Regions from separate parts of the Homo sapiens genome. Here regions 1, 2, 3 and 5 are each linked to region 4. The links are contacts of gene promoters, found by promoter capture Hi-C in blood cells and fetal thymus (Javierre and others, 2016). All regions are on one chromosome and are shown on one strand. The core of a region is centred on a gene start or on the middle of the fragment in contact, and the rest is flanking DNA. Distances in the headings are between cores, read along the strand shown. Region 1 overlaps ZC3H13 (zinc finger CCCH-type containing 13). Region 2 has its middle 28 kb from the start of SIAH3. Region 3 overlaps CPB2 (carboxypeptidase B2). Region 4 holds the start of ERICH6B (glutamate rich 6B). Region 5 overlaps CPB2 (carboxypeptidase B2).

Region 1 (3,471 bases), core at 193-2,692, 380 kb after region 4:
AGCACAAACTGAGAGTTAGTTCATAGTTCTTGGTTCAACTAAGGCCTCCCCTATTCCCTTCAAATCATTTTCTTTCACTGCTACCAGAGAAACAACACATAACCTCATGAAACAGATGTGATCATTAAGCACATCTGAATCACTCCTAGAGTCTATTATACCTGGGTCCTGTCCAAACTTTTGTGCAATAACTAAGAAGCAGCAGGAAATAATGTTTAAAATATAATATTCTAGACATGCCCAGATAAATATTCCTCAAAGCAATCATCTCAAGAGCTAAAAGCTTATTCAAAAAAATTCTGATTTTTTAAGTCAAAGTATTTCTGTAATTATCTTCAGTGTCTATGATAAACATTTTTTTAGTATGTGCAGTGATGGCACAAATCATTACTAATTCTAAACCAGTTTCTCAACCCTAGCACTACTGACATTTTGTACTGGGTAACTCTTCGGAGGAGGGGGAGTGTCTTGTACATTATATATAGGATGTTTAACAGCATCCCTGGCCTCAACTCACTAGATGCCAGTAGCATCCCTCCCATTCCAAGTTATGACAATAAAAAATTACTCCAGACATTGCCAAATGTCCTCTACCAGGCAAAATCACCCCCAGTTGAGAACCACTACCTTAAACTATGTTGTTTATAAATGATGCCTTAGTAAACCTTTTATCAAAAAAAGGTTTCAATCTATAAACTATGTTACTAAGTCAGGAATGTGATCTAATATATTAGAAAGAATATGCAGAAAAGAATTTAGGCAAATAAAAATACCTCTGGGTGACAGTAAATGAAAAGTCAGCTAACTAGAACACTACACTCACTTAAACATCAAGTTTTCTGTGACTTGATTAAAGCTTTATACTTTTAATAAAATAGTGATTCCTTTCTAACATAAAAAGATAAGCCATAAGCTACTAAAATTTAATTGACTCTAAATAGAAATTTATTAACTTAACAGCTAATATGAGTGGAAATACTCAACGGGTCTTAGCCAAATTTGGAAAACCATTTATGATCAATGCCCATCTAAATGCATCCTACTGAACAGAAAAATCACTGCAAGAGTAAAAATTAGAGTCAGTATTGTCTGGTTGTTTTCAATTTCAATGTCATTAGGTTCTAGTAAATTTTTGGGGGGATGGGCGGGGGGACAAGGTCTCGCTGTCACCCAGGCTACAGTACAGTGGCATGATCATGGCTCACTGCACTCTTGGCTTTCTGGGCTCAAGTGATCCTCCCACCTCAGCCTCCCGAGCAGCTGGGACTACAGGCACATGCCACCACACTCAGCTACTTTGTTTTATTTTTTATAGAGACGAGGTCTCACTATACCCCGGTTGGTCTTGAACTCCTGGGCTCAAGCCATCATCCTGCCTCAGCCTCCTAAAGTGCTGGGATTATAGGCATGAGCCACCATGCTTGATGGTTCTCGTCAATTTAAAAAACTAAAGAATGAATGGTTCTCCATTGAACTGATATTTTGGTTACTTCTGTGTTTATTTCTGGGGTATACTTAAAATTGTTTCAAGAATGTCTACAATAGCCTTGAGTTATTAGTTCATAAAACTTAAAAAAACAAAACAGTTCACATATACTACCTTTAAAAAACACATTAGGGTCCAATCATGTTTCTATTCAACTTGATGGCTATAGCATGGAAGAAAAAACTTCAAACTTAGGATAATCGGGCTATCACATTAAGGTCAGAACACTAATGGGTTGTCAAATAATGGCTTCAACTTTTTAATCATATTTTCTTTTTACTCAACCTTCACCTACGTCCATTCTGCATATATAAAAGGTATGATTCTAAGCAACGAAACTGTCTTGAAATCTGGTGAAAATTAATAGTACTTTGGCTATAGACTATTACAGAGCTATAGTAAAGTACATTTCCACTTAGAATAGAAGTAACTTCAGATTAATTCGTCTTATGCTTTATAATTGGCTGGTTTCTTATCTGAGGGAAAAAATTAGTGAAACTTGAAATTCAAATAAAGAAAAAAGGAAAGTTTATTTAATGAAGAGAAGCTTAATACCTTAAAACAAAAACCTGTATAATGTAATCAAGAGCACTGTGATTTATTGTATCCAGGGAAAGTTGATCTTTGGTCTGACTAGATTCCAATCAAACACTTTTTAGTGCTGCTATAATTAGGATATGATGTGGTGTGGAATGAGAATATTCAGGGTATATTTCATTTTGGGAAAAAATGTGAAAAGTTAAGAAATTTAAAAATAAAAACTCTCATTCAAGATGCAAGTAATTTCACCTGCAAACTAATAGGTTTACCCCAGACTTACTTAAAAATAGTAACACCAATGTTTCTTTCAAAAAATGGTTTCTATTTCTCAAATATGAAAATATGCTTACATAATGCACTAACATTCATATTTTAACCTTTAAAATCATGTAAAATGTATACATTTTTAAAACACAAAGGTAATATGGGCACTACCAAAATCATCTCTGTTTTCAGTGATAAAATACAACATAATACACATTTTGCAAGTAGAAATATTTAGGTTCTATTATTTTACATATGAAGTTTATATTTATTAAATCATTTTAATTCACTCAACAAATATTAAGTGAGCACATACTAAGCTCCAAGCATTATTTTTGGCAATGAGGATACAGAAATGAAGAGAACAAAACCACTAACATAATAATAGTAATGACATTAATAATAGCAAGTAACGTATATTGCTACTATGTGTGTGACACTATTTTAAGTGCTTGTCATATATTAACTCACTTAATCTTTATGACAATCTAATAAGGTAATTGAATGTCATGGTTAATTTTATGTGTCAACTTAATCCATTTATGCCTAGTGTTCCATTATTGGAATACTAAACTTGTGGGAGTTATTTATATCCTACTGCTCAAGGTCTCATGGCCAAGGTCTGATTTTTCACAAAAAAATTTGCAACTTCTGACATAACTGGGTTAACTGGGTCATGGAATGGCCCAGATATCTGGCTAAACATTATTTCTGGGCACGTCTGTGAGGGCTTCCTAAAAGAGTCTGGCATTTGAAATCAGTAAACTGAGTAAAGCAGATGGCCCTGACCAATGTGTGTATCATCTGATCTACTGAGGGCCTGAACAGAACAAAAAGGTGAAGGAAGGTTACATTCTCTGCCTGACTGCTTGAGCTGAACGTTGATCTACCCTTGCTTCTCAGGTCTTACACTCTGAATGGAGGCAGCTTTCTACCTCTCACGCTTCTGAATTACACCACCAGCTTTCCTGGGTCTCCAGCTTGCAGCCAGATCACAGGGCTTTATAGCCTCCATAATTGCATGAGCCAATTCCTTAAGTAAATCTCATTCTAGACATATCTTCTACTGGTTCAGTTTCTCTGGAAAACCTTGACTAATACATCGAGGGAGGACTGGAAACCAGTCTATCTAGTAACAGAGTCTATGGTCCAGGGAGCAAACCAACAATGACAAAGCAAGA
Region 2 (4,028 bases), core at 107-2,606, 260 kb after region 4:
GTCTTGAGGCAGAATTCCTTCCTTAGGAAACCTGTTTTTGCTCTTAAGACCTTCAGCTTATTGGATGAGGCTCGTATGGACTGAAATGTGTCTTCCCAAAATTCATGTGTTAAAGCCCTCACCCCCAAAGTGATTGCATTTGGAGACAGGGCTTTTTTTTTTTTTTTTTTTTGGCAGAGTCTCACTCTGTCGCCCAGGCTGGAGTGCAGTGTCACAGTCTCAGCTCACTGCAACCTCTACTTCCTGGGTTCAAGCGATTCTGCTGCCTCAGCCTTCCAAGTAGCTGGGACTACAGATGTGCGCCACCATGCCCAGCTAATTTTTCTATTTTTAGTAGAGATGGGGTTTCACCATATTGGCCAGGCTGGTCTTGAACTCCTGACCTCACGATCTGCCTGCCTCGGCCTCCCAAAGCGCTGGGATTACAGGCTTGAGCCACTGCACCCGGCAGAGACAGGGATTTTAAAGAGGTGAAGAAGGTTAAATGAGGTGACAGGGTGGGGTAGTGGGAAGAAACACCAGAGAACAGGCCATGTGAGGATGCAGGGAGAAAGCAGCCATCTGCAAGCCAAGGAGAGGCCTCAGGAGAAACCAACCCTGCCACCATCTTGATTTCGGACTTCCAGCCTCCAGAACTGTGAGAAAGGCATTTTTGTTGTTTAAGCCACCCAGTCTGTGTTACTTGGTTACGGTAGCCCTAGCAAACCAACACAGGAGTCCACCCGCAAGTTAACCATTATCTCCTTTACTTAAAGTCAACTGATTTTAGATGTCAATCACACAACTTCTAAACTAGTATTTGATGAAACAGCTGGGCACCGCAGCCTAACTCCCCATTAGCAAATGCATGAACACTTCAGCAGTAAAATGTGTCCTCACACTAAGTAAAATAAAGCCTATCATTAGCCTTCCTGACTTTGGGTCAGGTTTGGCACCAAATGAGTTACAAAATAATCATTGGTCTTTGAAGCTTGGGAGATGAGAATTAGAGATGGAAGATCAAAGATTAATTTTACTTACTTCATAGTTTTGACTCTAGTCAGACCTGCCTGCCCAGGTATATTGAAAGAGCAAAGTACTTTTATCCATTTCAAATAGTTATATAATGGCTGCCATTCATAAATATGTAATACTCTGCTACATATTAAATAAACTTTTTCTCAGATATCTTTCAGAACAATCCTGTGAGGTGCATGTTATGATGCCCATTTTATAGAAGAGGAACCTAAGCACAGAGAGGGAAAGTAATTTGCCCTAAATTACACAGCTATAAAGAGGCAGAGCGGGGTAGTGCATATGACCAGCACACTATGCTGCCTCCTCCCATGAGATGATGTGTACAGAAAGAAAGTCTCACTGTTCAGAAAACATAGTCCACGCTCTGGAGCCTACATCATCACCACGTGTTCTTGGTGTCTCTTCCTAGTGCCCTCACGCTCATCTGACACTCATAAAGCCCTTTCATTTTGGTTTGTCCTCAGATAGCTGCGGGAAGAGATGCCCTAAAGATCTGGTGTGGATGCTGCCTTCCTCACAGCTCCTCAGTGGCTCCCCATTAATTACTCCACACAGGCAGTAAGCCTCATCATAGCACTCAAAGCCCCTAGGACTTGGCCTTAACTGATTGGTCGGTTTAGCAGCACCATATTTTATTGCTGCTTTCCAACTTTCATGTGTTCCACTAAACTGGAAAAACCTCCTCTCCCAATAGCTGCTGCGGCTTCTCCTCTGAGGTTGCTGAATGAAGCTTTGTGGTGTGGCAGAAGCAGGGAGGGTTCCAGAGTCCTACTGGCCCCCTGTTTCACCATCTGTGTTAACTTCAGGGAGTTATTTTCTCATTCTGAGCCGTTTTCCACTTGGAGGAGAGGGGCAGAGTTGTACCTACTGCACAGGGTTGGTGTGAGGACTCAGAAGGATACAGAACATAAAGCACCAATTGTCCTGTGTTAATATAAGAAGGTTGAGAAATACTATTCTTTCTCCCTGACAGGGAGCCTGTGAGCCAGGCAGGAACAGGCTCATCCGTGTCACGCAGGGTCAGTGTTTAGTGCCTCTGTCTTTGGCCGATGAGTGGACTCACACCTCTGGCACATGGCCTCATTCACTCCCAGAATAGCAGAAGCCACCTGGTGGTTGCTGGCGCTGGTCCTCACGCCTTGAATCAGAGCTCTCCTGGAAAGGTCTTCCTTCAGCTCCTTTCAGTTACATGATTGACATGCTTTTTTCTGGCAGTAAAGCTGGGAATGGAACTCCACAGACTTGAAAAACATTGAATGGTGTCTTGCTGAAATTGCTTTTTTTTTTTTCATTTTTAATTCGAAGAAAACAAAAGCCCAAACCTTGCAGTGGAAAAGTCATTAAATAATTTACTGCATTTGCCGTTTTAAGTGGTAATTTAATACAACCATCCTTGAAGCCTCCTTTAGGACAAAAATTTTGAGATAGAAACAAAAAAGGGCACAGTAGCTATACTTATATCAGATAAAATAGACTTCAAGCCAAAATCTGTAAAAAGAGACAAGGCCATCCTATAGTAACAAAGAGGTCAATACAGCAAGAGGATATAACAATTGAAAAAAATATCTATATTCAACATTGAAACACCTAAGTATGTAAAGCAAACATTGAACAGATCTAAAGGGCGAGATAGACTGCAATACACTTGTAGTAGTGTACTTTAACACCCCATTTTCAGCAACGGACAGATCATCCAGACAGAAAATCAACAAAGAAGCATCAGAATTAAACTGGACTCTAGACCAAATGGACCTAACAGATATTTACAGAAAATTCCATCCAATAGTTTCAGAATACACATTCTTCTCAACAGCACACAGAACATTCTCCAGGATAGATTATAAGTTAGCCCACAAAACAAATCTTAACAAATTTTCAAAAATCAAAATCAGAATTATATCAAGTATCTTTTCTGACCACACTGGAATAAAACTAGCAATCAATAACAGGAGGAACTTTGGAGAGTGTATAATTACATGGAAATTAAACAACATGCTCCTAAACAACCAATGGGTCAACAAGGAAATTTAAAAGGAAATTAAAAAATTTATTAAGACAAATGAAAATGGAAACACAACTTACTAAACCTATACAACAAAAGCAGTTCTAGGAGGGAAGTTCACAGCGATAGATGCTTACGTCGAAGAAGGAGAAAGATCTCAAACAACCTAATGTTGCTCCTCAAGGAACTAGAAAAACAAGAACAAATTAAAACCAAGATTAGTATAAGGAAAGAAATAATAAAGATCAGAGCAGAAATGAGCAAAGTAGAGACTAAATAAACATTATAAGAGATCAATAAAATGAAGAATTGGCGTTTTGAAAAGATAAAATAGACAAACTGTAAGCTAGACTAACAAAGAAAAAAGAGACGACTCAAATAAAATCAGAGATGAAAAAGGAGACATTACAACTGATACCACAGAAATACAAAGGATCAGAAAAGACTAGTATGAACAACTATATGCTAACAAATTGGAAAGCCTGGAAGAAATTAATAAATTCCTGGACACATACAACCTACCAAGATTGAATCATGAAGAAATAGAAAACCTGAACAGACCAATAATGAGTAATAAGGTTGAATCAGTAATATTTAAAAAGTTTCCTATCAAAGAGAAGCCCAGGACCTAGTGCCTCACTAGGGCCCATCCCATAAATGAGAAGTAGCCTTCCTCCAGCAGAAGGCCATGTTTTCTGGAATCAGGAATCTGGGTAGTATGAGAAGCCAGAAGCTCTCACATATTTTCTGGCAAAACACAGTTGTCTAATGGCTTTGCAATTCACGCAGTTGTCTAATGACTTTGCAATTCCATGGAGATTAATTTACCTTCAGGGGTAAAATATGGAGACATTTAGAGAGAAAACCAAATGCCGATGTTTTAAAGGTAGCCTGAAGCTTTATCAGTGTTGTGTGTGCATAAGATCCTGGTTCAAGGAGATTTGAAAAGACATTTGTAATCTGTGGGATTTGATGATTTTTCATTCTCTCATTGGCTTTTCAAAATGTA
Region 3 (3,882 bases), core at 520-3,019, 460 kb after region 4:
GTACATGAATGAGAAGCTTAGAAAGAAATGACTGGCTTCAAGCTTCTCAAAGTGTAGTGTAGTGGATTTCCACTGAGACTAGATTATAAGATTTTTGAAATCCTTATTGAGTTGTAGAAAAGAGTGAGAGACTTAAAAGCTAAGATTTTAATTTGCCTTTGGGTGGTTTAGTTTTTGAATATAAAACCTACCTTCACAATTGTTGAAAGGTAAATATTTTATTTTACTTTCCCTCCTCCAGTGCTTTGAAGTACTAAGAGAGTCAGATGATCTGAATTAGTTTTAGGCAGGCAAGAATGGAGTTTAAATGTCGATTTAAAAAGCCCTTATTGATTATGTTTCTTTGGGCTACACAAATCAGGTTCACATTGTTGGAGCAAAATACTCAGCTATAAGATCCTTGGGCTATATTTTGTTCATCCTTGTATTTCCAGGATCTGAAACATCATAGGCAATCTATAAATATTTGTGGATTAAATAATTTAATCTTACAAAGATTCAGCAAGCAGTTTGGGTAGAGGGTAGGATGTCTAATAGGAGGGCAGAGGTGTCAGGGTGAGAAGGGCAGTCATTAGGGACAACCTCACCGATATAAATTAGAGTCAATATGAATGGAGGTTTCTTCTTGGCCCTTCTCATGTTCAGTGATAGAATGGAAAATAAATGTTCTTACTCTCCTACTTTGGACCTTTCTCTATTAACTGCTGCTCCCTTCACTACCTAAAATAACCAAACTACTCAACTTGGGGAAGGTTCCAGATCATGATGTGACTGGGATATGTTAAGGGTCTGATCAGTTGGAATCATCCTCATTTGGCCAAGGTAGTACCAATGGTGTTTGGGAATTTCCAGTAGACTCAGGGAGGTTGCAGCTCCCATCCATGGAGAATGGAGGATAGAAGATTCACAGTGAATGAAGGCAAATAGGGATGTTGCATTTGTCAAGGTCAAGCAAAGACAGAAACAGTTTTATCTTGATGTACTTAATAAGTGCCAATATCTTAATTTCCTAACTCATTTATTCTGTTACTATGTATCTGTGAATGCAAAGACTGCAAAAATCATTATCAGAAAGACACATATTTTGAGTTATTTTTCCAGTGGCTATGATTCTTTGTAGAAATCAGTGTAGAGAACATATATGCCCATTTTATAGGATTTGAAGCATAATTTTTACTGTTTTCATTCATCAGGGAGGTTAATAGTCGTTATATCTTTTACTTTTCCAACATACAGTTTGTCTTATATATGGCTTTTTTGATGCAAAACCCTTCTTCAGGAACAAAATTCCCTATTATGACATATGAGAAAACATATTCTGTTTCACCTCTGTAATGTTGTGCTTTATGTTCAATTTCCAAGGGCAAAGGTGGCAAAAGATGTCTGGATAATTAAAACCAAAAGAGAAATAAATTAATTGGGCCCCAACTTAGATAACTCCTTCAGTCCTTTCCTCTACTTAGTAAACATATTATAATCAATGTACTATTTCTTAATCATTTTCCACTGTTTAGCTCCAGGCAGAAATGTAGAAAAGACCAAAAATATTTTGGGTGATTTAAATGCTTGAAGTCATGTTCTTCAACTTACTAATGCATAAAAGTCACCTGGGAAACTTGTGAAAATTGTAGATTCCCAAGCTTCATGATGTGACCTAGGAAAATGCATTTTAATAAATAGCCCAGTTGAGTCTGACACAGGTGATCTTGGGCACCATTTTGAGAAATAGGGTTAAGAGAATGTGAATACTTACATGGCCTATGAACCACAAGCAGAAAGCAGGAGAGATCCATTCTCTGGCATGGATTCCACAGTCAATCCATATGGCATTTTTGGCTGCTTGTTCTTTTCCAGAAACCTGCTCAAAGAAACCCCAAAAGTAGCAAAAACAGTAACAATAAGCTTCAGGATAATAACTTTCATTTATATAGTGCTTATATTTAATAGTTTCAGCAAATCTCTGAGATATGCATTGTTCTGCATTTCTTTGAAAATTCTCAAGGGAAATTTAAACACTGGTGATACTAAGTGACATTAGTTAAGGTAGCAAAGCTGGTGTGAATTGAAACTGAAGTTTGAAGCCAGGACTCTTTGATTTAAAACTGTTTTTATCCTCCACAATTATGCAGTCATGTCAGAGCTGCATGTGGAAGTTTCAAAGAAGAGACCAGAGAACTAATGATTTGGGCTGTATCTTCATGCTTCATTTAGAGGTAAATGGGTGTGAGTTGGATGGCAATCTTCCCCGGGAGGTGTGGAGACACACCCAGAGCAAAAACTCCCTCAAGATTTTCCTGAGTGCATATTTTTTTTTTATGTGGATTATTTCTTTATTTCACACAAAAAGAAGCACACATCTAACCTCTCACGAACTTACCAGCAAATCCAGGGACAGAGGCTTTTTTCCCAGTATGGTGGGCTAACACAAGCTGCTAACTCTGGAATAAGAATCATCAACCTTTTCTCAATAATAGCCTTTGATGTCTTTAGAAGAATTATCAAGAACACCTCCAAAATTAATCATAATGTATTTGCCTTTAAAAGTCAGCTACAACACAGTTTAGGGTATAGAGCAGTGGTCCCCAACCTTTTTGGCACTAGGGACCAGTTTCATGGAAGACAATTTTTCCATGGATGGGGCAGAGTTGGGGTGGAATCAGTGGTGGGGATGGTTTGGGGATAAAACTGTTCCACCTCAGATCATCAGGCATTAGATTCTCCTAAGGAGCATGCAACCTAAATCCTTTGCATGCGCGGTTCACAGTGGGGTTTGTGCTCCTATGAGAATCTAACGCTGCCACTGATCTGACAGGAAGCATTGCTCAGGCAGTAATGCTTGCTCGCTGGCTATTCATCTCCAGTTGCGTGGCCGCGTTCCTAACAGGCCATGGACTGGTACCTGTCTGCAGCCCAGGGGTTGAGGACCACTGGTATAGAGGGAAGGGAGAAGACTGTTGTAAAATCAAACAAATATGTAGACTTGCAATTCCAAAATAAGAAAAAGAAAGAGTTAGATATTTAGATTGTCATTTGAACCACTCCAGGAGGTTTTTTCCTAACTTGGAGCTAGCAATATTTAACAGGATAGTAAGTAAGAAAGCCCAATGGCATTGGCCACTAATCGTCAAATTGTATAGTCAAAGAGAACTACCTAGCTTAATCTACTCAATGCAAAGAAAATCTTAAGTTGTCTGGATTCGTTACTTTACTTGACCTTTCTAAGTCCTGGGCCAATTTTCTTGGCACTGGTTCTGACACCGAAAAGTTGGCAAAATCCCAGAGACTCACATTATCTGCACATCCTTGATCAAGTAAGAGTAGGACCAAACCATCCAGAATGCATGATTTTTCAACGTGTACAGGTTCCAGATAAGTATGTTCCAAGGACTACACACAACATGGCTGAAAGCAAATGTCATGGGTGGATATGCCATGATACATGGATCCAATCTGATTGACCAACTCAGTGACCAAGGGGACCCAACATTTCATATGTCTGCCTTGAGTCTGCACTGTAAGTTCTTGTAAACGACAGATTAAAATTGAGAAGTCCTAACCCAAAGTCTTATCTTTGAATGACTGAAGAGGCTCACCTATCACAATTTAGATAATATTGGGATACTGTGCATAAATTATATGTTACTAAATTAAATGTACATTTTTAGTGACTACATTATTTTCCAGAGCTTTAAAAAAAATTTTTTTTAAGAGAGAGAGGTAGAAAACAGAACTATAGAGTTGTTTCCTAGTTCTGAAAACAATTGGCTGTGGCTATGTTCACTGACCTTTACTAAGGTCAATTTATTCAAGAGAGAAGACATCCAATCCAAGTTAGGTTAATCAATTTCTCTTGCATAATATTTTGCAACTGAAAATAAATAA
Region 4 (3,985 bases), core at 852-3,351:
ACTTGGGGTGTGCTGCCTAACCAACCCCTTTCTTCTAGAAAGCATCAGTCTGAGAGGGCACAGATGCCTGGTTCCACATTTGGAGTTTGGAGGGATTAAATATGAAACACAGAATAAGCTGTGTTATTAAACTCACACTTGCTTTTTTTAGTGGGATAGCAAGAACATAGGCAAATGTTTCTATACAAAGACTTTTTTAGTTATACAACACAAGTGAAGAGGCCGGTAAACCACTAAGGTCTAGGAGGAGACCAATCGGTGTTGGGCTGGGGGACTCATGGATACAGATTCTTGGCTGAGGTCTGGAAGGGCTGAGGAATTTGCTGCCAGGGTCTGTCTTAGCAGGATACATCAGCCCCATCTCCAACAGGAGAAATGGGAGGACAGGGCTTCACCCTGTCTGCTGGTGCAAGAGAAGCCTTGAGCTTCGGTAGACAGTTGTATGTGTCCCTTCCAACCAGAGACCTCAATATATTAACGGGCCCTCTTTTTTCTCTGCAGGATCCAGTACATATTTCTGACGGCTCCTCCAGAGTGGGATTTTATCTGGAGTCCCACCCTTTCTTTTGAATTTCCTTATCACTTTATAGCAAGTTTATTCACTCATTAAAACCCAACCCAAAGTCACCTCGTCTGGGAAGACACACAAGCTCTTCCAGAAAGAGTCTCTCTTTTCCTGACTGCTCTCTCACTGCCTTTCTCCTATTGCACTTCTCCCTGGTTTGTGTGTCTGCCTCACCCATGAGACTGTAGCCCGGCACCATGTCAGGCACGTAGCAGGATTTCAACAGAAGGATGTGGATCGAATGGATGATCCAACGGAAGGAGAGGCACACAGGAGGCTGACCACAAATGAAATTTCTGGTTTGGACTTTTCAGCCCCCATCACTTCACTTTCCCTCCTGCTATGGGGGAAACTCAAGAGATGAGTTATGGGTGGGCTAAGACAGCAAGCTGGGAGCTGGTGAAGAAGATGGAGTGGGTGACCCTTGGCTTTCACTGGGCTTCTCCCAGCCGATGCTTGGAAACCCTAGATGGATCAAGGTGAGAAGCCTCATTTCTGTAAAGGACTCCAAGGATTCCATGGTGCTCTGCAAACGTAATGTGTTCTTGTTGCTGTTATCATCTACCATAGCTGTTTATAACCTTGTTCATTAACTTGTGTGATTCTTGGCTGAAGTCTGCTGCTCTCCCCCATGAGGGGAACAACTGATGACCTACTTCTGTGAATTCCATGGTGCCAGGCCTGGGCTGATCTGGATCTACATTAAAACATGCCAGGGGGCAAACATGAAATCAAAATGTTCTGGCAACCCCCTTAGACCAATCAGTGCAGTGTTTAGCACTATAGACACCCAGTGCACTCATTACAACATCATTTCCTAGGACCTTTTTTATAAATAGAATTTCGAATATATTCAGGTTTGAACTTTCAAGGAGGGTGACTTTGAGCCATCACTTGGAACAGAACACTTGTAAAAACACTGACCTTGGTCACTGCTCACATCTCCCTGGAAGGCCAGTTAGGACTGCTGTTTACCCCCCACATTAGAGAGGTAGGGGAAGGAAACAGGGGAAGCTGAGTGACTTGCCTTTGGGCCACAGGAGTCGCTTCGTGGGCAAGGCTGGAGTTTTCGATCTGGGGAATTTGTTCCTGGTTGGGGGACTGGTCTATATTCAGGCTGTCAAGGAAGAAGTCATAGTATCCACACTCGCACTTCCCCCCAGAGCTAGGGGCTCTCTGGAGAGAAAGTGACCCCTTATCCTTTATTTGTAGAAATATCATGACCCAACAACGGCCTTCACAATGGGAAGAAGCTGGGTCGAAGCAGATGTCAGAAAGGCCAAGGGAATAGAGAGGCCGAGAAAGGGCGAGAGAAACAAAGAAGTCTATGTACTTGGCGCTTCTTTGTTGCCCAGATCCTCCACTCTGCTCCCTGCTTTCTCCCTCAGAGAAGGAGGGGGAAGAGGAGGAGGAGAGTGGGTGGAGAGGGAGGCGGAGGAGAAAGAGGAGGAGGAGCGCATTGCTAACGTGCGCAGCCCTTACCCAAGCCAGGCTCCCGCGCGTGCATCCACCGCGATCTCAGGCCCCGGCGTTTGTGGCAGCTCTCGGTTACCATGGGAACCGCACTCCGCAGCCTCCCTGGGCCCCATCTAATCTGCGTGTGTGCGTGGCGGAGAATTCTAAGCCTCTGCACCTGCCCTTGCCTTCCCTTTCCCAGCCTCTCTCCTGGCGGGGAACTGTTTGGACCAGTCGTCAGCGGCGGCCAGAAAGTTTTCCTGCTGTCTGCCTGAAGGTCGCCTGTGTCAGGGGGAAGTTGCAGCCGTGGGGATTGTGTTTCCCTGAATGGAGACAGTACACGTCAGACCTCCAGGCTGGGACTTTCTAGAATCCTGGGGTCCAGTGCTAAGCTTGTGGTGGCTGCGTAGATGAAGAGATGGGACATGTGGCTCTCAAGGCCCTGAATGGGCTCACTGGAGCTGGTCCCCAGGAAAGGAACTGCCCTGAAAGGGATAGAGAGACCCACAAGGGGTTGATCTGGGGCCAAGGGTTGGAGAAAGCTGAGTTCCCATGCCCTGGCCACTGTGAGTGGACTTGCAGGAGTGGCAGAATGGTCAGGTGGGGTGGGAGGCTGGGTTGCAAACCACTTCTATGTAGGCATTCCTGGTCAGTTGTCACAGAGGTTTCAGAAGGACCTCAGTCTTTGAAGTGCTTGCAATTTGCCCTTCCTTTTCTTTCCTTTTCTTTTTCTTCTCATTATACTTTAAGTTCTGGGATACATGTGCAGAACGTGCAGGTTTGTTACATAGGTATACACGTGCCATGGTGTTTTGCTGTACCCATCAGCTCGTCATCTACATTACGTATTTCTCCTAATGTAATCTCTCCCCTTGCCCCCCCGCCCCCGATAGGCCCCAGTGTGTGATGTTCCCCTCCCTGTGCCCATATGATCTCATTGTTCAACTCCCACTTATGAGTGAGAACATGTGGTGTTTGGTTCTCTGTTCCTGTGTTAGTTTGCTGAGAATGATGGTTTCCAGCTTCATCCATGTCCCTGCAAAGGACATGAACTCATTCTTTTTTATGGCTGCATAGTATTCCGTGGTGTATATGTGCCACATTTTCTTTATCCAGTCTATCATTGATGGGCATTTGGGTTGGTTCAAGTGTTTGCTGTTGTGGATAGTGCTGCAATAAACATACGTGTGCATGCGTCTTTACAGCAGCATGATTTATAATCCTTTGAGTATATGCGCAGTAATGGGATTGCTGGGTCAAATGGTATTTCTGGTTCTAGATCCTTTAGGAATTGCCACACCGTCTTCCACAATGGTTGAACTAACTTACACTCTCACCAACAGTGTAAAAGCATTCCTATTGCTCCACATCCTCTCCAACATCCATTGATTCCTGACTTTTTAATGATTGCCATTCTAACTGGCATGAGATGGTATCTCATTGTGGTTTTGATTTGCATTTCTCTAAAGAGCAGTGATGATGAGTTTTTTTTTATACGTTTCTTGGCCGCATAAATGTCTTCTTTTGAAAAGTATCTGTTCATATCCTTCACCCACTTTTTGATGGGGTTGTTTGTTTCTTGTAAATTTGTTTAAGTTCCTTGTAGATTCTGGATATTAGCCCTTGTCGGATGGATAGATTGCAAAAATTTTCTGCCATTCTGTATGTTGCCTATTCACTCTGATGACAGTTTCTTTTGCTGTGCAGAAGCTCTTTAGTTTAATTAGATCCCATTTGTCAATTTTCGCTTTTGTTGCCATTGCTTTTGGTGGTGTAGCCATGGAGTCTTTGCCTATGCCTATGTCCTGAATGGTATTGCCTAGGTTTTCTTCTAGGGTTTTTATGGTTTAGGTCTTACTTTAAATCTTTAATCCATCTTGAGTCAATTTTGTATAAGGTGTAAGGAAGGAGTCCAGTTTCAGTTTTCTGCATATGGCTAGCTAGTTTTCCCAAAACCATTTATTA
Region 5 (4,049 bases), core at 411-2,910, 480 kb after region 4:
CCATGTACCAAGAGCTCTCAAAGCACAAAAGAGGTTATGATAACTTCTGTTTGTCATTATTAGCAAAGGCTTCATAGAAGGGATGTCTGGGTGTGTAAGAATGTCTAAGAGTGGGTAAAGGCACAATAGCAAGAGATAAAGGGCATTTTTGGAAAAATGGCTCTTGTTCATTGTTGCCAAGTATAGGATACGGGTGTTTAAAGCAAGAGAAGAATGGGAGCTAAACAGAAATGAGTGTGGGAAGTTATGTTCATCCTTCCCTAGAGAAGGTCTTGAATGCATGCTGAGAAATTTGGACTTTATCTTGTAGGCAATTAGAAGTTAGAAAGGTAACATTTGAGCTGTGATTTATAGGGATAATTTTATTTGTTTTCCTTTGTTTGTTTTTGTTTGTTTGTTTGTTTTTGAGATGGAGTCTCGCTCTGTCACCCAGGCTGGAGTGCAATGGCGTGATCTTGGCTCACTGCAACCTCCACCTTCTGGGTTCAAGCGATTCTCCTGCCTTAGCCTCCTGAGTAGCTGGGATTACAGGCGTGCACCACCATGCCCGGCTAATTTTTGTATTTTTAGTAGAGATGGGGTTTCACCATGTTGGTCAGGCTGGTCTTGAACTCCTGACCTCAGACAATCCACCCGCCTCAGCCTCCCAAAATGCTGGGATTACAGGCGTGAGCCACCGCGCCCACCAAGGATAACTTTAACAAGGGTGGAGGGTGGCTTTATTTTGGAAATCCTGAGTAAAATATTCTGAATTCTGGAAATAAGTCTATGGAGAGACTTGCTTATTAGAAGAGGGGAAAAGTAGCTAGACTGAGAAATTTTATGTCAATCTCTGGTACAAGTTTAGCATAAACTATTAAACCACTGATTAAAGATACATGTTCAAGGATGTGTATTACGGCATTATTCATAGTAACAAAACCTAAAAACCATGTGAATGCTCAGCAGTAACAGAATTGTCGAATGTTGGTAGTGTCTCCACATTCTAGAATGCTTTTCAGTCATTATAAAAAATGAGTTTGATTTATAACAGTTAACTTGGGGGCTTTAAATGGCATATTAAGGGAGAAAAGCAAGATATGGAGAACTTTATGAAATATGATCCTATTTTTGGAAAAAAAGTTAGAAAGATAAAGAAAAATTATATGTGTTAAAATCAGGAGAAAATTATACATAAATAAACAACACATTGTTAGCTTTGATTTGGAGGGTGGGAAATGGCAATTGAAGCCTTGGGTAAGTGGCAGGGGAAGAACAAATGAGATTCTTTTTAAAAGAAAGGTTTCTATAGTACCAATAGGAGATACAACATTGAACTAGTATACAATTATACCCAGGGAGGTATAACTATGTGGAGAAATGTATGAAAGGATGATCACAAACATGTTCATATTTTCACCAGGATGGTGAAATTTTAGTATTTTCTCCCTAATTTTATGCTTTTCTGTATTATTTACTTTTTAAACCCAAAAGAACTCCTATTCTTGTATTTATTCAAGAAAATTAAATTTAAAGAAAAATCTCCTTTGACTGTGAAAAAGCCACTAACAAGCTTCTCAGTGATGCTGGTAACCCTCTCATCTCACCAGCACATTCCTTATTATTTTCATAAACAGAATGTTCTCTGGGCCCTTGGAGTAGCGTAGTCACCCAGTGGGTTTTCTAGCCTTACATAGCATTTTTATTCTAGTGTGCTCTATCTCTTTTTTCACCATCTGCCACATTCGCTCTGACATTTCTAGCTCAGATGGTGCAGGCCATGCTTTCTCCAAGCTTCCAAAAACTACCCTAACAGCATGTTTGTACCACCTCTCAAGGAACTAACTAGAATGTTAAATTCTGTAGCATGGGTGAGTGCACCTCCTTTGGGGTATAGTCCCTTTCCTTTGTTAACATGCCCAGCACTTCCACAGCCAGCTTATGTTGTGACTACCCTAGGTTATTGGCTTGAAGGCCAGGAGGGGAGGTGGGAATAGATCCTGAGGGCTAACTACAGGACATGCCATTACAGAACTGAGCTCTCTGATACCAATGGAGATGTTAAGATCCCTGTATAGAGAAGCCAGGCGGGAGGGCTTAACCACCAGTAACAAGTTGGGCACAGTTATTACAATGAGCAGTAAGGTCGGAGTGGCAGCCAGAGGACCATGACCCTTAGAAAATTGTGGAGTCGGTTAGGAGAACACAGAGTTCTTAGGGGCAAGATAGAGAAGCAGCCAACAAAAGGATTGCTCAATCTTTACAATAAAAATAAATCAAAGCTGGATAATGAGAGAGGCTGAGGACAGCTATCCTAATCAAAAGTCATAATCCATTGCCCTTTTCCAGATCTGAGCTGTTCTTAGACCCAGAATTTCTTGCCTGAAGGAGGAATCAGGTCCCCACAAGGAAAGACCCTGCAACTGTATAAAAAAAGAATCTAAAAAGATCATGACTCCTTCAGTCCTTTCCCAAAGAGACCTATGGAAATTTCCTCAGGTAAGTCTGCACCCTGGGGAAAGGGTAATACTCAAATATTTTCAGGTGTGTTGGATGCAGGGTCACTATCCAAGTTGATTTTGAAACTTGGGTATCTGGAGCCCTAGCCTAAGACTAGCTCATAGCGGGTGCACCATGTTAATGGATTCCCCCATCATTATTTCCCTGGTCACCAAATGTATAATTGACATGAACATACTAGGTAGTTGGCAGAACCTCCACATTGTTTCCTTGACTGTAAGACCAGAGCTATCATAGTGGGAAAAGCCAAAAGGAAACCTCTGAAATTGCCCAACCTCCCAGCCAAGATATCAAAATTAAAAAAAAAAAAATTCATCCTTGAGGGGAAATGACAAATATCAGTACCACCCTTAAAGACCTAAAAGATGCAGGGATGATAGATCCCATCAAATCCACATTTAATTTGCCATCTGGATCCCACAAAAACCAGATGGATCCTGGAAAACGACAGCAAACAATCAAACTCAACCAAGCAACAATCTCAATTGCAGCCATAGTGCTTGATGTGGCATCTTTGCCGGGGTAGAGTCTCAGGCATATGGTATTCAGCTATTGCGCTGGATATGTCAGTCGGAAAAAGCATCAGAACAGTTAACATCCACTTGGGACAGACACCAGTGCATATTTACAGTCTTGCCTCAGCTTTAATTAACTTTCTCACTCTCCAGCTGCAAGATGTGTACTTGATATAAGCCCCCAGCTACTGTGCTCTGAAATCTGTCCCTGTGTTAGTGCTAATACCACATTTCCCACTGGCTTCTTGCAGCTAATAACTGAGTATGGTGGGGATACTAAGGGAGGCTCTTTCTACAAAACTGGAAACTCTTCTGATGTGTGACTCTGGCTATAGGACTTTTTTTTTTTTTTTTTTTTTTGAGACAGAGTTTTGCTCTTGTCACCCAGGCTGGAGTGCAATGGAGCAATCTTGGCTCACTACAATTCTGCCTCGTGGGTTCAAGTGATTCTCCTGCCTCAGCCTCTCGAGTAACTGGGATTACAGGCACGCACCACCACACCTGGCTAATTTTTGTATTTTTAGTAAAAACGGGGATTCACCATATTGGTAAGGCTGGTCTCGAACTCCTGACCTCAGGTAATCCACACACCTCGGCCTCTCAAAGTGCTGGGATTACAGGTGTGAGCCACCGTGCCTGGCCAGGACTCTTGGTTGGTTTTGCCAAAACTTTCTTAGAACTGCACTACGACCTGAAATGTTCCCTACCTGCTTCCTTCCTTTCCTCTCTCCTCCACAGGGGTTAAGCTTGCATTGCAGTCTCATGGCTCTCCCAGCCTCCTCCAGCCCTCTCCCCATTTCTTGCACCCAAGCATTTTCCTCAACACACCTCTTGCACAGCTAATCCCATCTTGGTGTCTGCTTCTCAGAGGATCATAACTGACACAAGTAGGAAGAGGAAGTCTGATACATGGACAGTCAAGTTGATAGTGCATGGGTACAAGTAAAAAATGAAGTGGGCTGGGCACGGTGGCTCACGCTTGTAATCCCAGCACTTTGGGAGGCCGAGGTGGGTGGATCACCTGAGGTCAGGAGT

Evidence for each region. The method cuts DNA at HindIII sites, captures the fragments that hold promoters and counts their contacts. A CHiCAGO score of 5 or more calls a contact.
Region 1: a contact is called between a fragment that was not itself captured here and the fragment with the promoter of ERICH6B in region 4, in 1 of 17 cell types (M1 macrophages). The highest score is 5.0, in M1 macrophages.
Region 2: a fragment that was not itself captured here is called in contact with the fragment with the promoter of ERICH6B in region 4 in 1 of 17 cell types (M1 macrophages); the score reaches 6.0 in M1 macrophages.
Region 3: a contact is called between a fragment that was not itself captured here and the fragment with the promoter of ERICH6B in region 4, in 1 of 17 cell types (endothelial precursors). The highest score is 5.5, in endothelial precursors.
Region 5: a fragment that was not itself captured here is called in contact with the fragment with the promoter of ERICH6B in region 4 in 1 of 17 cell types (endothelial precursors); the score reaches 6.1 in endothelial precursors.

Annotation. Positions count from the first base shown.
Region 1 is chr13:45,989,675-45,993,145 of GRCh38, forward strand. All of the region lies in intron 8 of ZC3H13 (zinc finger CCCH-type containing 13), which reads right to left. Among named protein-coding and RNA genes, the nearest start is that of ZC3H13, 61 kb to the right of the region's middle. The HindIII fragment of the contact is 1,177 bases long and covers 855-2,031 here.
Region 2 is chr13:45,877,753-45,881,780 of GRCh38, forward strand. No RefSeq gene overlaps it. Among named protein-coding and RNA genes, the nearest start is that of SIAH3, 28 kb to the left of the region's middle. The HindIII fragment of the contact is 777 bases long and covers 969-1,745 here.
Region 3 is chr13:46,072,120-46,076,001 of GRCh38, forward strand. It overlaps CPB2 (carboxypeptidase B2), which reads right to left. Exons shown (of 11, transcript NM_001872.5): 6 at 1,754-1,858. All of the region lies in intron 1 of CPB2-AS1 (CPB2 antisense RNA 1), which reads left to right. Among named protein-coding and RNA genes, the nearest start is that of CPB2-AS1, 21 kb to the left of the region's middle. The HindIII fragment of the contact is 262 bases long and covers 1,639-1,900 here.
Region 4 is chr13:45,613,638-45,617,622 of GRCh38, forward strand. ERICH6B (glutamate rich 6B) reads right to left here and starts at 2,102. Exons shown (of 15, transcript NM_182542.3): 1 at 2,048-2,102. RefSeq lists an enhancer at 1,725-2,226. The HindIII fragment of the contact is 3,697 bases long and covers 1-2,410 here.
Region 5 is chr13:46,092,525-46,096,573 of GRCh38, forward strand. All of the region lies in intron 1 of CPB2 (carboxypeptidase B2), which reads right to left. CPB2-AS1 (CPB2 antisense RNA 1) reads left to right here. Exons shown (of 3, transcript NR_046227.1): 2 at 2,329-2,478. Among named protein-coding and RNA genes, the nearest start is that of CPB2, 10 kb to the right of the region's middle. The HindIII fragment of the contact is 221 bases long and covers 1,551-1,771 here.